Linked DNA regions of Homo sapiens: region 2 is linked to region 1. Evidence: promoter capture Hi-C in human tissues and cell types (Jung and others, 2019). All regions are on one chromosome and are shown on one strand. The core of a region is centred on a gene start or on the middle of the fragment in contact, and the rest is flanking DNA. Distances in the headings are between cores, read along the strand shown. Region 1 holds the start of TNP2 (transition protein 2). Region 2 has its middle 19 kb from the start of LINC01290.

Region 1 (7,456 bases), core at 2,263-4,762:
TCAAACTTCTTTTCTGGTAGCTGCGTGCCCTTGAGCAAGTCACTGCGTGTCTTTGAGCCTCAGGCTGCCCCTCCCAGCGTTTAGGGGAAGCTAATAGCTACTCATGGGTCAGATGATCAGAAAAATTAGCTCAAGTGATGGGTGGGACCAGGCCTGGCACCAGTCAGTGCTGAGCTAGGACAGGGATTGTTGCTGGGGTCATGGTGGTTCCTCTAGGTCCTTCTTGGCTGCAGACTCTTCCACTGCCAGTCTATGCTGCTGGCAACCACCTGCACCCCTACCTGGAAGCTCACTCCCGCCTTCTTCAAGGGGTCTAGCCCTGGGGGCGGAGACAGTACCCCATGAGAGCAGTAGGCAAAAGAGGCCCAGGGAGGCGACTGGGTACAGACACAGAACCTAGGCCCCATCCTCTCGCTCTGGGCTCGGTGCGCCTTCCGCAAGGAGCTTCGGAGTGCGTCTGCTGCCCACCCTACTGCCGGCTCCTCCCTCACTCCTTCCATCCCAAAGAAGCCACAAATGCGATCTCCACCACATTCCCTCACAGTCCTCCAAGCACCAGCCACCTTGAGCTAATTCTCTGGATCAGCTGATCCCCTGTTCCCGAGGGGATCCTAGTTGGTACCGTGGCAGTGGGGCTGGGGGATGGGGAATTTTCAGGGAAGCCTCGGTTTCTCTGGGGGCCATGTTTGACGTAGGAAGGAGCCTTGGGCTACCCTGTGGGGAGGCCACGGCTCTGCCCGGCAATGGCCTAGGGCAAGGGAGGCCCTGTTATCCCACTACTCCCAGACCCACAAATGACTCGGTTGGTCAGCCTTGTCCTTTTGTCCAAGGCCCAAAGGTCCACCCACCCATTCATTTGCCCAGGAAACATGAGCTGAGTCCCTGTTGTATGCCCCACATGGTGCTAGTCACAAGGAGCCCTGGTAATAAAACATAGTCCCCGCTGTCCTGGGAGAGAGTTCACTGTCATGGGTGCGGGGGCAGGTACGTGACGTGCCGCACACCCGCTGCTGGGAGAGGTCAGCCCTCCCTGGGAGGACTGGAAAGGTGTGTGGAGGAGAGGCTGGTTGATGGCAGGCCACGATCTCCATTCCAGGCTATGTGCTTCAGGATGGGAAAGTGGGGCGTTGGCAGTGGAGGAGCAGGAGACCATGGGAAGGGGGGTCCAGAGACCCAGAGAGTCTTCACGGCTTGGTCTAGCATATACCCCACAACCGGACCTGCTGAGGCCACCCAAGGCAGGGCCCTGAGAACCCTGCTGCAGCTGTCCCTCTAATCGCCGAGAATCCCTTAGTGACCTCGAGAGGAGGCCAGACCTGAATATGACTGGCTCTGCCGTGATCGGCTAAGGGACTCTGGGCTGGTTACTCCACCTCTCTGAGCCTGTTCCCTCTTTGCTAAATGTAATCATAGTATCTGCCTCATGGGGTGCATAAGTTTCTTGGGGCTGCCATACCAAATGACCACAAACTTGGTGGCTAAAACAACAGAAATGTATTCTCTGCAGTTCTGGAGGCCAGAAGTCTGAAGTCGAGGTGCCAGCTGGGCTGATCTCCCTCCGGAGGCCTTAGCAGAGAATCCTTCCTTGCCTCCTCTAGCTCATACAACTCCAAGCTCGTCTCCATCTTCCCATGGTTTCCTCTTCTCCCTGGGTGACACCTCTTCTGTCTCTCATAAAGACATTTATCATTGGATTTAGGGCCCACCAGCTAAGCCAACATGCTTATCTCAAGATTCTTAGCTTAATTACATCTGCAAAGACCCCTTTTCCAAATATCACATTGACAAGTTCTAGGAGTTATAACGTGGACATAGATTTTTGGGGGTTGCCATTCATTCCACTACAAAGGGTCACTGTGAGGTTTGAGGGCAAAGCTGCCTGGAGAGGGTAAGGTCCAGAGCCCAGCCACATAGAAAGCATTCAGTAAATGAAAGCAGTTCTCACTGTAAGAAATTTGAAATGTTTATTAAGAAATAAACTGCAAAGGCTGGGCATATTGGCTCATGCCTGTAGTGCCAGCACTTTGGGAGGCCAAAGCAGGAGAAAACCTTGAGCTCATGAGTTCAAGACCCACCTAAGCAACAAAGTGAGACCCCATCTCTACAAAAATAAAAATAAAAAAATTAGACAGGTGTGGTGGCATGCACCTGTAGTCACAGCTACTTGGGAGGCTGAGGTGGGAGGATCGTTTGAGTCCAGGAGGTGGAGGCTGCAGTGAGCTGTAATTGTGCCACTGCACTCTAGCCTAGGCAACACAGCAAAACCCTTTCTCAAAAGAAAAAGAAAAAGAAAAAAACTTCCATAAAAGCAGACGATTGCAAATCCTCATAGCAAGAGGCAAAGTTGCACATGGGCAGAGTGAGAGGTTGGCTTGGGCCGGAGGCCTGCTCGGGGAGGACAGACAGAGACAGAGGAAGTTCCATGCAGAGAGAAGTGGGAAAGTACAGGGCCAAGGGCTAAGCCCAAAGGCATCGGCCAAGACAGGGAGGGGTGGAGGGCTCTGGATGGAAACCCAAAGACTAGAAGATCAAATGGCTTAGTGTTCAAACATAAGTCTGGGCTTTCTTCTAGAGGTACTGGGGTATCTGAGCAGGGACGGCGTGATTCAAACGGTATGGCGAGGCTTCGTTAGCAGGAAGGGGAGGAGAATCAAGAGGCAGAAACTGAAGGAGAGAGACGGGTTTCCAAGGGCCTCCTGTAGCTTGACAGGCATCTCAGGCTCACGAGAATACCAGGAAAGAAGGAAAGACACCCCTTTGTCACATACGGCAATTAAGCCTCAGAAACCACAATGGCCTACCCAAGACTGGACATCAGTGCAAACTGGGATTTGAACCCGGCTCTGAATTTCCCGACTTTAGATCTGGCTGGGGAGGTAGGCTTGCCAAGCGAGCCCCAGGACCACCCCTTGGTCCATGTGGTTACTCATCTTTCATCCATCCACCAAGCCATCTGACCAATTCATCACCTCCCCATCATCTGGGCACTAATCATCTGTCTTAACAACTGCCCACCATTCAGCTGCCATCACCAGGGTCAGGGCTGCACTCCTGGTACCCAAGTTGCCCAGGGCGTTAAGAAAAACACCTGATGATGCTGGTCAGTGATGTTTACTGAGCTCTTATTGTGGGCTGGGCCTGAGCTAACTGCTTGATATAAATTCTCTCCTTTATTAATAATTCTTCTAATGTCCGAATGAGGTCAGTACAATTATTATCCCTATTCTGCAGAGATGGGGAAACTGGGACTTGTTCAGGCGAATTCCCAGGGCTGACCATGTGGAAAAAGCAGATCTGGGATGCAGACTCAGCTTAATCTGACCCAAGGGCTCCTACCCTGAACCAGTAGCTGGGACTATCCCCAGGGTACCCCTGAGAGCTGCCCCAGCCTGGGGGTGAGGGTAAGGGGTAGGGGGCTTTGTCTTGGCTGAGCCACATCTCTCACACCCCTGTGGCCTGGGCCATCATAATCAGCCCCAACTATATAACCAGGTGGGCTGCCAGGGCCTCTGTAAAGCTAGGCCTGCTGGGAGAGGATGAGGAGGAGGCCCTGCCCCTCCAAACGTGGCCTCCTATGGACACCCAGACTCACAGCCTTCCTATCACCCACACTCAGCTCCATAGCAACTCTCAGCCCCAAAGCCGCACCTGCACCCGCCATTGCCAAACCTTCAGCCAGAGTTGCAGACAGAGCCATCGTGGCAGCCGGAGCCAGAGCTCCAGCCAGAGCCCGGCCAGCCACCGCAACCCAACTGGAGCCCACAGCTCATCCGGCCACCAGAGCCAGAGTCCCAACACTAGTCCACCACCAAAGCGCCACAAAAAGACTATGAACTCCCACCACTCTCCCATGCGGCCCACCATCCTGCACTGCCGCTGCCCCAAGAACAGAAAGAACTTGGAAGGCAAGCTGAAAAAGAAAAAAATGGCCAAGAGGATCCAGCAGGTGTACAAAACCAAGACGCGGAGCTCAGGTACCCTTTAAGGAGGTGGGGAAGGGCCACCGAGCCCACAGATGATGGAGAGCAGACCTTGGGGGCAGTGAGAGGAAGGCTGCAGCCAGGTCACAAAGGAACCACAGGCAAGAAGGAAGAGGGAGAAGAGAAACAATGGCAGTTGGCTAGCTGAATGTATGATACATTGACGGAAAGTCTCTTTGAAATTGGATGGGTTGATTAGGAGGATGGAAAGATGGACAGATAGCAGATAAGCTAGATGAAAGCATGAATGGAGTTGAGAGGTTGGGTGGATGACTGGGTGGGTAAACAATAAATAGGTTATAGAAAGGATAGTTGGAAGAATGCATTGGCTGAATGATAGGAAGTTTGGATACGATTAGCTGGATGGATGGATAAATGGATGAATGCACTGGCTGGCTAGTTATTTGGTTGGTTAGGTAGATGATCAGTTTGAAGATTGTGGTTGGTGGATGAATTGGTTAGAAATAGAGTTAAATAGTTGTAGAAGTTTTGATGGGTTGGTTTGATTGGTTAAATATTATCTTAATAGAGTAATATAGAGTAATTGAATAAACAGAGAGAAGAATAGATATCTAGACTAATGGGATAGAATGGGAAAGAAATGTTGAATAAATGAATGGAATGAGTGAACTAATGAATGGGTGGATGACAAATGGAAGGGATAAATGGATGGATACCTGGATTCACATAGGTCAAAAGGACACTGACGGTAGTCTAAACTCTATCTATGTCCCATATTCAATCACAAATGAGTAGTTGTAAGACCTTACAGGAGGTCAAGGAGGTCACTGACTTCATGAAGTGCTCAGCTATTAAAGGTTCCTTTCCCACTCTTATCCCTTAGGATGGAAATCCAACTAATGAGACCGCACTCCTTGGCTTGTTCCTGCGTGTTTCACCCAAAGGAGAAAATGCTAGGATGAAGTCAATCTTCTTGCAGGAACATGTTACTATGGTGATTTCTACGCAACACTAATTAAAGCTTGTACCTGGAAGACTATCCCTGAGTAGTCATAGTCATTTTGATTTCACTAATAAAGGTGTTATGTGTTTTGGGGGCCTGCACAGGGGCAGAAATGAATGGGGGTAGGATGCCAAGAAGCCTGCAGAGTCCACTCTGCTTGGATAACAATCTTTTGCCCTGTATGCTCCCACATGGGTGTGTACACATGTGGACACACAAGATGCACACATGTCCACAACCTATTCACGTGATCCACATGTATGTAGCCCAAGAACACGACAGGAGACAGGAAGAGGGGTTCAGAATGTGCCTTTTGCAATCCAGAGCATCCTGAGTTTGAATCCTGGCTCATCTTTCGTACTCGCTGTGTGACCCTGGACTGTGACCAACCTCTGAGTCTCACTTGTTGATTCTGTAACATAGTACCAACCTCAACGTTCCTCAAAGCAGCCATTTCAACAAACTTTTACTAAGGGACCAAAGTCTGTTCAGGGACTGTGCTGGGCTCTGGGAACAGAACTAGAGAACACACAAGGCCCTGCCCTCATGGAACTTACAGTCCAAACACACAAGACTTGTCAGAATGAGCTGTATCAAGGGAGCAGGGTGATGTCATGTCCCCGTGAGGGAATGAGCCTGGGTTAGAACCTGTGTTCCAGAGGAGCTGGCATAGAATCTGAAGGTGCTGGGACATGAGCTGGGGGCACCAGGTGGGGGCCAGACCATGCCGGGGTTGTACCAATCTCCGCAGGAAGGAGCTTGGACATTATTCTTGGTGTGAGAAGTCAGGGGAGGGTCTCAACTGGGTGAGTTGATAGAGTCTGGTGTGTGCTTTTTTCTCTGAGACCATCTCACTCTGTCACCCAGGCTGGCGTTTAGTGATGCAATCATGGCTCACTGTAGCCTTGATCTCCCAGGCTCAAGCCATCCTCCCGCCTCAGGTTCCCGAGTAGCATGACATGCATCACCATGCTTAGCTATTTTTGACTTCTCGCTCTGTCGCCCAGGCTGGAGGGCAGTGGCGCCATCTCAGCTCACTGCAACCTCTGCCTCCTGGGTTCAACCAATTCTCCTGCCTCAGCCTCCCAAGTAGCCGGGATTACAGGTGCCCGCCACACCTGGCTAATTTTTGTAATTTTTTTCCCCCACTGTGCAGGCAAGTTTTGTCACTGCTTTTTATTTTTATTTCATTTTACTTTAAGTTCTGGGATACATGTGCTGAACATGCAGGTTTGTTACACAGGTATATATGTGCCATGGTGGTTTGCTGCACCTAACAACCCGTCATCTAGGTTTTACGCCCTGAATGCATTAGGTATTTGTCCTAATGCTCTCCCTCCCCTTTCCCACCACACCCCAATTTTTGTATTTTTTTAGTAGAGACGAGGTTTCACCATGTTGGTCAGGCTGGTCTCAAACTCCTGACCTCAAGTGATCCACCCGCCTTGGCCTCCCAAAGTGCTGGAATTACAGGCGTGAGCCACTGTGCCCGGCTTATTTTTTTACTTTTTGTAGAGATGGGGTCTCACTATGTTGCCCAGGCTGGTCTTAAAAACTCCTGAGCGCAAGCAATCCTCCCACCTCGGCCTCCCAGAGTGTTAGGATTACAGGCGTGAGCCACTGCACCAAGCCTGGTGTGTGTTTTCTTTTTTCTTTTTTTTTTTCTGAGATGGAGTCTTGCTCTGTCGCCCAGGCTGGAGTGCAGTGGCGCCATCTCGTCTCACTGCAAGCTCCGCCTCCCAGCTTCACACCATTCTCCTGCCTCAGCCTCCCGAGTAGCTGGGACTACAGGTGCACACCGCCACGCCCAGCTAACTTTTTTGTATTTTTAGTAGAGACAGGGTTTCACCGTGTTAGCCAGGATGGTCTCGATCTCCTGACCTTGTGATCCGCCTGCCTTGGCCTCCCAAAGTGCTGGGATTACAGGCGTGAGCTACTGCGCCCGGCCACCTGGTGTGTGTTTTCAAAGTGGTGCTGGCTGCTGTGTGGAGACTGGACTGCAGGGGATGGGACAGGGTACAGCAATTGGCAGAATGGCAGCCCGGTCTAGCGGGGTGATTTTCCACAACGGGTGGGCTGGAGGTTCCTCCCAAGATAATGCCCAGAGTCCTGCCTTCCTCATTCCTCTTTCGCAAACATTTACTGAGCACCCACTTGTGTGGGCTTTGGGCTAAGGCCAAGGAGGGAAGATAAGGGTGAACCAGACAGAACCCTGCTTCCAAGTAGGAAACCTGCTCTCATTTGCAAAATGGGCACCCTTGCTGGGAGGTTGGGAGAGGTCAGTGTGTCATGCATGTGACATGGTGTCTGGGCTCAGTGCTTGGCACTCAGTAAACCTCTGCTGTTAACATGGCATAAAAAGTACCAGGCAGATTTTCGTGAAGGAATGCCGGCTGCCAGACAAAAGGACTGGGGAATGGTCAGGGTCTTGGGTAAATTGGCTTCTGACCTTCATACCCACAAGCCTTGGTTTTAGGGTCAGACTCAAGTTTGCCCTAGTTCTCACTATCCT
Region 2 (7,456 bases), core at 2,726-5,225, 760 kb after region 1:
ACAAAAATTAGCCAGGCATGGTGGCATGTGCCTGTAGTCCCAGCTACTCAGGAGCCTGAGGCATGAGAATCGCTCGAACCTGGGAGGTGGCGGTTGCAGTGAGCCAAGATCGTGCCACTGCATTCCAGCCTGGGCGACAGAGTGAGACTCCATCTGAAAAAAATAAATAAATAACTTAATGGCATTGACAAATGGTTGCCCACCCCACAAACCACCCACATACCCTAGTATCAAAATTATGGGAAATTGTTTCTTTCAAAGAGACTTCAGAAAAATATTGTATCCTGGTATAGAATGGATGGTTATTTCATTGTTTATATGAAAGGGCCTTGCTTGTTGACCAGTATTTGTATTTTAATTAATTTTTGTCCTTTCCCACTATCTAAGTAGCAAATCTGTCATAACTCCTGTGGTTACTGTCTTTTTAGACTTTGCCTGTGTGTTTGGATGTTTGGATTCCAGTAGAGAGGGTTCTTCCCCCGACACAGTCCCACCACTCGTAGTTCAATTGCAGGAGAGGAAAAACTTCATTTATCCTGTTAGATTCTGTGACTGGAGTCTGTAAGTTAAACTGACAACAGGTAGATGAACAGGAGGAAAGACATACAAATTTTAATATTTTTACATGCATGGGGCTTCACATAAAAGGAGCAAAAATGCAAAGCAGTGGTTAGACTTGGGGGCTTATATACCATTTTCCTTTTTTTTTTTTTTGAGATGGAGTCTTACCCTGTCACCCAGGCTGGAGTGCAATGGCATGATCTTGGTTCACTGCAACCTCCGCCTTCTGGATTCAAGCAATTCTCCTGCCTCTGCCTCCCAAGTAGCTGGAACTACAGGCACAAGCCACCACGCCTGGCTAATTTTTTGTATTTTTAGTAGAGACTGAGTTTTACCATGTTGGCCAGGCTGGTCTCGAACTCCTGACCTCAGGTGATCTGCCTGCCTTGGCCTCCCAAAGTGCTGGGATTAGAGGCATGAGCCACTGTGCATGATCAAAAAAAGCAATTTTTAAAAAAAAATTACCCAGGAGTGGTGGTGTGTGCCTGTAGTTGCAGATACTCAGGAGGCTGAAGTGGGGGGATCTCTTGAGCCCAAGAGTTGGAGGCTGCAGTGAGCCATGATTGTGTCACTGCACTCTAGCCTAGGTGACAGAGAATCTGAGAAAGAGAGAGGGAGGGAGGGAGAGTTTGGGTTCCTAGGGCTGGTAAGTTGTGGAAAGATGACTAGGAAGTGGTGGGTAAGGGTTGTTTAGTAATGTTTGTCATGCCAACTCATCTCTGTGCCAGTCACCCTGCCTTGGTATAGAGAAACATCTTTACATGGGGAATTTCCCTGCTTTTAGGCAGAAAGGGAGTGGGTAGAGAGCTCTTTTTGTCTGCAGTTTCTCAGTTGCCCTCAGCTCAAAATAATCCTTATGCCGAAGTGGCCTCTTCTGGGGTAATGTATTCTGATCCCCTTCAACACCAATAGAAAATCAAGGTAGATACACACCCCTCCTCCCAAAGTCTCAAGAGGGTGAAAGGCAGGAACTGCAAGGATTATATTTGTCTTCCTTATACGGCTCTTTCTCTGTCTCTTTTTTTTTTTGAGATGGACTCTTGCTGTATCGCCTAGGCTGGAGTGCTCACTGCAACCTCTGCCTCCTAGGTTCAAGTAATTCTCCTGCCTCAGGCTCCTTACAGGCAACCGCCAGCACACCCAGCTAATTTTTGAATTTTTAGTAGAGACAGGGTTTCACCATGTTGGCCAGGCTGGTCTCACACTCCTGACCTCAAATGATCCACCCGCCTCCACCTCCCAAAGTGTTGGGATTACAGGCATGAGCCACCGCACCCGTCCTCTTTTTTCTCTCTACGTTCAGTTCAGTTCTTCCAGTCTGTCATCCTGGATTTGTGGTCATGGGTAATATGTAAGATCGTTAGTCTGTCTCTGCTTTTGCAACCTTGACTGCCATCTGACAATTCAGGATAAGGCCTCTCTGCTTTCATGATGCTGGGCACATCTGATTGAGGTAAGAGCTCTTGACGGGATTGATGGAGGGCTTTGCAGCTTCGTTATTGATGGGTAAAATGTCTCCCAGCAAATGTGGGTGTCTAAGAGTATGCAGGGGAACCCACCTCCATGGCATGTGGGGTGAGGGCCTGGTATCATTTCTTTGAACAAACCATGGCTCCCAGTGGAGAGGGAATGTATTAGTCAGGCTAGGGCTGCTATAACAAATTACTATAAATGGCCAAGCGTGGTGGCTCATGCCTGTAATCCCAGCACTTTGGGAGGCTGAGGTGGGTGGTTGACTTGAGGTCAGGAATTCGAGACCAGCCTGGCCAACATGGCAAAACCCCGCCTCTACTAAAAATACAAAAATTAGCCAAGCATGGTGGCACACACCTGTAATTTCAGTTACTCGGGAGGCTGAGGCAGGAGAATCACTTGAACCCGGGAGGCAGAGGTTGGAGTGAGCCGAGATCGCACCACTGTACTCTAGCCTGGGCAACAGAGTGAGACTCTATCTCAAAAAAAAAAAAAAATACTATAAACTTGGTGACTTAACACAACAGAAATTATTTTTCTTGCCATTCTGGAGGCTGAAGTGTCCACAGGACTATGCCCCCTCTGGAGGCCCTCATGGAGAACTCATCCTTGCTTCTTCTAGCTCCTGGTGGCTCCAGGCATTCCCTGGCTTTTGGCTGCATTGTTCCAATCTCCACCTCTGTCTTCACATTGCATTTCTTCTCTCTCTCATCTCTGTGTGTCTCTTATCAGGACACTTGTCATTTAATTTGGGCTGAGATCATCCAAGATGATCTCATCTGGAGATTCTTAATCACATCTGCGAAGATCCCCTCCCCTCCCCTTCCTCCCCTTCCCTCCCTTCCCCTCTCCTTCCCTCCCCTCCCCTCCCCTCTTCTTTTTTAAGACAGAGTCTCACTCTGTCGCCCAGGCTGGAGTACAGTGTGGTATGATCATAGCTCATGGAGCCTCAATCTCCTGGACTTAGGTGATCCTCCCAACTCAGCCTCCTGAGTAGCTGGGACTACAGGTGTGGGCCACCATGCCTGGCTAATTTTTATTTTTTTTTTAGAAATGGAGTCTCGCTATATTGCTGGTCTCAAACTCCTGGGCACAAGCAATCCTCCTGCCTTGGCCTCCCAAAATGCTGTGATTACAGCAGGCATGAGCCACCGTGCCTGGCCGATCCTTTTTTCCAAATAAGGTCACATTCACAGATTCTAGGATGAAGACATCTCTTGGGGTGGGGGACCCAGTTCAACCAGCTGCACACGGGATGTAGATAAATGCTGGAAGGGCCCAGAGGACGCCTCTTGATGATGGAGTAGGGTTTCTCTTTCTTCATTAGCAAGGGAACTACACATATTTGTAGAGCAGTGCCCCTTAAAAATCATCGTTTATATTTTCAGTTCCTGTCTCAGCAACCAGATGAAGTATTGAGTGGAGTCCCTTCCATCCACATTAATCTGTTGATGGGAGTGGTGTGTTCCTTCAACATTACCACCAGGTGGCAGCCAAGAACTTAGAGTCAGGCGGGCTCATGCTTGCTGCCTGACCCAAGTACATGGTCTTAGCTCCTGAATTGAGATCCAAGTTTGCAAATAACGACAGAGGATGCCAAATCACCTTTGCTCTGGCCTATTCAGTAACATGTCACTTAATAGGGAGAATTACCGGATCAGTCCACCAGCCAGCCTAGTGTGGCAATAACTTACCCCAACTGTTTAAGCATTTACATAGCACTACCTGTTTTTTGTTTGTTTGTTTGTTTTATTTTTGAGAGGGAGTTACGCTCTTGTTACCACGGCTGGAGTGCAATGGTGCGATCTCGGCTCACTGCAACCTCCACCTCCTGGGTTCAAGTGATTCTCCTGCCTCAGCCTCCGGAGTAGCTGGGATTACAGGTATGTGCCACCACGCCCAGGTAATTTTGCATTTTTTAGTAGAGATGGGGTTTCTCCATGTTGGTCAGGCTGGTCTCGAACTCCCAATCTCAGGTGATCCACCCACTTCGGCCTCCCAAAGTGCTGGGATTACAGGCATGAGCCACCGTGCCCGGCATACACACCTGTTAATTTTGCCTGTTTTGCATTTCTTTCCTTACTTTGGGGTAGTTGGGAATGTTAATCACTTTAGCCCCTTCCCTAGCACAATTATTGTTTCAAAGATTGGCATATTAAGTCATTCCAGTGGGAGCATCACAAAGAAAATCTGATATTCTTTTCTTTCTGTGAATCAACCTGTATCTTTCCTGCAAGTTATTCCCCCGACACACTTGCTTGCTGTCACAGGACCTTCACTGATGGGATCTGCATTTTGTTAACAGTTTAAGGTGGTCAACTCTAGCACAGGCCAGGCCAAAAGTCAAAAATTCTTCATTACTGAATGAATATCCTAGGTAGATTATACAAGGATGTCCTTATACTACCAAAGAATGTTCTTTTATAATATAAAAGGATGTCCTTATTCAGATGTCCCTAGACCAATTACTTTAACTTTTGGAATGTCCAAATACAGCCAAAATCGACCCCTGAATTGTTTCTAAAACTGAGATCTTTTATTAAAATAGCAAAAGGAAGAAGTGATAGGTTCCATGAGGCCTATAGTTACAGAGATTTATTATTGAATTTGTTCAAAACATTTTTGTGTTTTAAATATTTCCCAGATGATTCTGATATGTGACCAGGGTTGAGGACCAGCATTTCTCTATGAGAGCTAGATCAGGTGTGAATTTCAGAATTAGAGGTGATTAATTTGACTGTTATCTCTTTCTCTCTCTACTTTTTGTGCCTGGAATACTTAGTTAAAACTTATTAAGCACGGTGGCTCACACCTGTAATCCCAGCACTCAGGGGAGGCGGAGGCAAGCAGATCACTTGAGGTCAGGAGTTCAAGAGGAGCCTGGACAACATGGTGAAACCCCGACTCCACTAAAAAAATACAAAAATTAGCCAGGTTTGGTGGTGTGTGTGCCTGTAGTCCCAGCTACTCGGGAGGCTAAGGCAGGATCACCTGAACCTGGGAGGCGGAGATTGCAGTGAGCCGAGATCGCACCACTGCACTCCAGCCTGGGTGACAGACTGAGACTCCATCTTAAAAAATAAATTAATTAAATAAAACCAATTAATCTCAGGAGACCTGATTCTCTCTTGCTGAGATGGGTAGAGAGAAATCCTTTGGCAACTAAACCTGTTACTCTAGCATTGTCTCTGTTTTCCAAAAATCCTGCTTAAGCTTTACTTATCTGTATTTAATGTGAACCTATCCCCCCTTATTGTTCTTCTGTGCCACCTCATCTTAAAGTCTATACATTGATAGGTTCTGCATTGAGTTCTTGCACTTCTCTAAGGAAAGAGAGCAAGAGAATTGTGGAAGTTTGGAAGAAGTGAGGGTAAAGAGACTGGATATCTTTCCAAGTTAAAGCAGTTTGGAGCCAAGGCTGATGGTAAAGAGAATATTGCAGAATTTGTTAAATATCCATTAATGAGTAGAATCTGGCAATTCCTGGAACCATAGTTCGAGATTGAGGGTGGAATAAAGATATATCAGATACACCCACAATCAGAGAATTTAACACCTATAGCCCCTCATTGAAAGAAAAAGTGTGGGATGCAAGAAAAATGGTGAATACAGAAATATGATAAAAATGCCAGTAAATTAAACAATTATTGACTGGAAACAGCCGTAATGAGCTCTTTTTGCTTTTAAAAGATGGGTCTAAACTTATTGATAAAAATAACAAATAGGCTGGGTGCAGTGGCTCACACCTGTAATCCCAGCACTTTGGGAGGCTGAGGCGGGTGGATTACCTGAGGTCAAGAGTTCGAGACCAGCCTGACCAACATGGTAAAATCCCGTCTCTACTAAATACAAAAAATTAGCTGGGCATGGTGACACATGCCTGTAATCCAAGCTGTGCAGGAGGCTGAGGCAGGAGAATTGCTTGAACCCGGGAGGCAGAGGTTGCAGTGAGCCAAGATTGCACCACTGCACTCCAGCCTGGGCAACAAGAGCGGAAAACTCTGTCTCAATCAATCAATCAGGCAGTAGGTGTTTATCTGGGGTAGGCAACCTGTAGTTAAGGCATTTTCTTGTAAGATCCTTTTCTTGATTGGAAGGATGTCAGAGATATGGATTAGACTTTGTTGGGAAAAAAGGTTTTGAATGTATGTTGATATTAAAACATTATGAATAAAATGACATATCACAGATCTGCATCATAATAATTCAGTGCCTGATGGGAGCTGAGAAGGTATACAGGGTTTAGATGACACAAGGTTGACACGAGTTGAAAATTGTTGGCCGGGCATGGTGGCTCACGCCTGTAATCCCAGCACTTTGGGAGACCGAGGCGGGCGGATCACCTGAGGTCGGGAGTTCGAGACCAGCCTGACCAACATGGAGAGACCCCGTCTCTACTAAAAAATACAAAATTAGCCGGGCATGGAGGCACATGCCTGTAATCCCAGCTACTCCAGAGGCTGAAGCAGGAGAATCGCTTGAACCTGGGAGGCAGAGGTTGCAGTGAGCCAAGCTCGCACCACTGCACTCCAGCCTGGGTGACAGAGGAAGACTCTGTCTCGAAAAAAAAAAAAAAAAAAGTAATGTATGTTGACATTTGAGGGAAGTCACTGAAAGAACAGAAAAACAATGAAATTACTGTAAACAAGCAGAAGGAAGAAGGAAGAAAGGAAACGTTTCAACAGAAGGAATAGAAGGAGAAAAATAAGCAAACAAAAAGGATAATAAACAAAGAAAATACACAAAATAATATGGTATAAAATAAGTCTCACTGCACATTTCAGTTGTGAACCCAAAAGTATGAAAGACAGATCTCAATCGATTTAGAAAGTGTGTTTTGCCAAGGTTAAGGATATTCCTGTGACACACAGCCTCGGTGTTACAGGAAAGCGGTCCCGATCCAGACCCCAAGAGAGGGTTCTTGGACTCCACACAAGAAAGAATTCAGGGTGAGTCCACAGATTAAAGTAAAAGCAAGTTTATTAGGAAAGTAAGGGAATAAAAGAATGGCTACTCCATAGACAGAACAACCCTGATGGCTGCTGGTTGCCCCCCCTTTTTTTTTTTTGAGACAGAGTCTTGCTCTGTCACCCAGGCTGGACTGCAATGGCACGATTCTCCTGCCTCAGCTTCCCAAGTAGCTGGGACTACAGGCACATATGCCATCATACCCAGCTAATTTTTGTATTTTTAGTAGAAACGGGGTTTCACCATATTGGCCAAGCTGGTCTCAAACTCCTGACCTCAGGTGACCCACCCGCCTCGACCTCCCAAAGTGCTGGGATTACAGGCATGAGCCACTGCACCTGTCTGGTTGCCCATTTTTATGGTTATTTCTTGATTATATGCTAAACAAGGGGTGGATTATTCATGCCTCCCCTTTTTTAGACCATATAGGGTAACTTTCATGCGTGTCTGTGTG

What was found. Contacts are between HindIII fragments. The study calls those that stand out against the background at their distance.
Region 2: a contact is called between a fragment that was not itself captured here and the fragment with the promoter of TNP2 in region 1, in 1 of the 25 tissues and cell types used here (lymphoblastoid cells).

Annotation. Positions count from the first base shown.
Region 1 is chr16:11,265,381-11,272,836 of GRCh38, reverse strand. TNP2 (transition protein 2) reads left to right here and starts at 3,512. Exons shown (of 2, transcript NM_005425.5): 1 at 3,512-3,974; 2 at 4,825-4,980. The coding sequence starts at 3,575. The coding sequence ends at 4,841. The region is part of intron 1 of LOC105371082 (a long non-coding RNA gene); the gene reads right to left. RefSeq lists enhancers at 127-823, 6,311-6,811. The HindIII fragment of the contact is 5,287 bases long and covers 1,075-6,361 here.
Region 2 is chr16:10,505,825-10,513,280 of GRCh38, reverse strand. No RefSeq gene overlaps it. Among named protein-coding and RNA genes, the nearest start is that of LINC01290, 19 kb to the left of the region's middle. RefSeq lists an enhancer at 3,373-3,462. The HindIII fragment of the contact is 4,790 bases long and covers 1,581-6,370 here.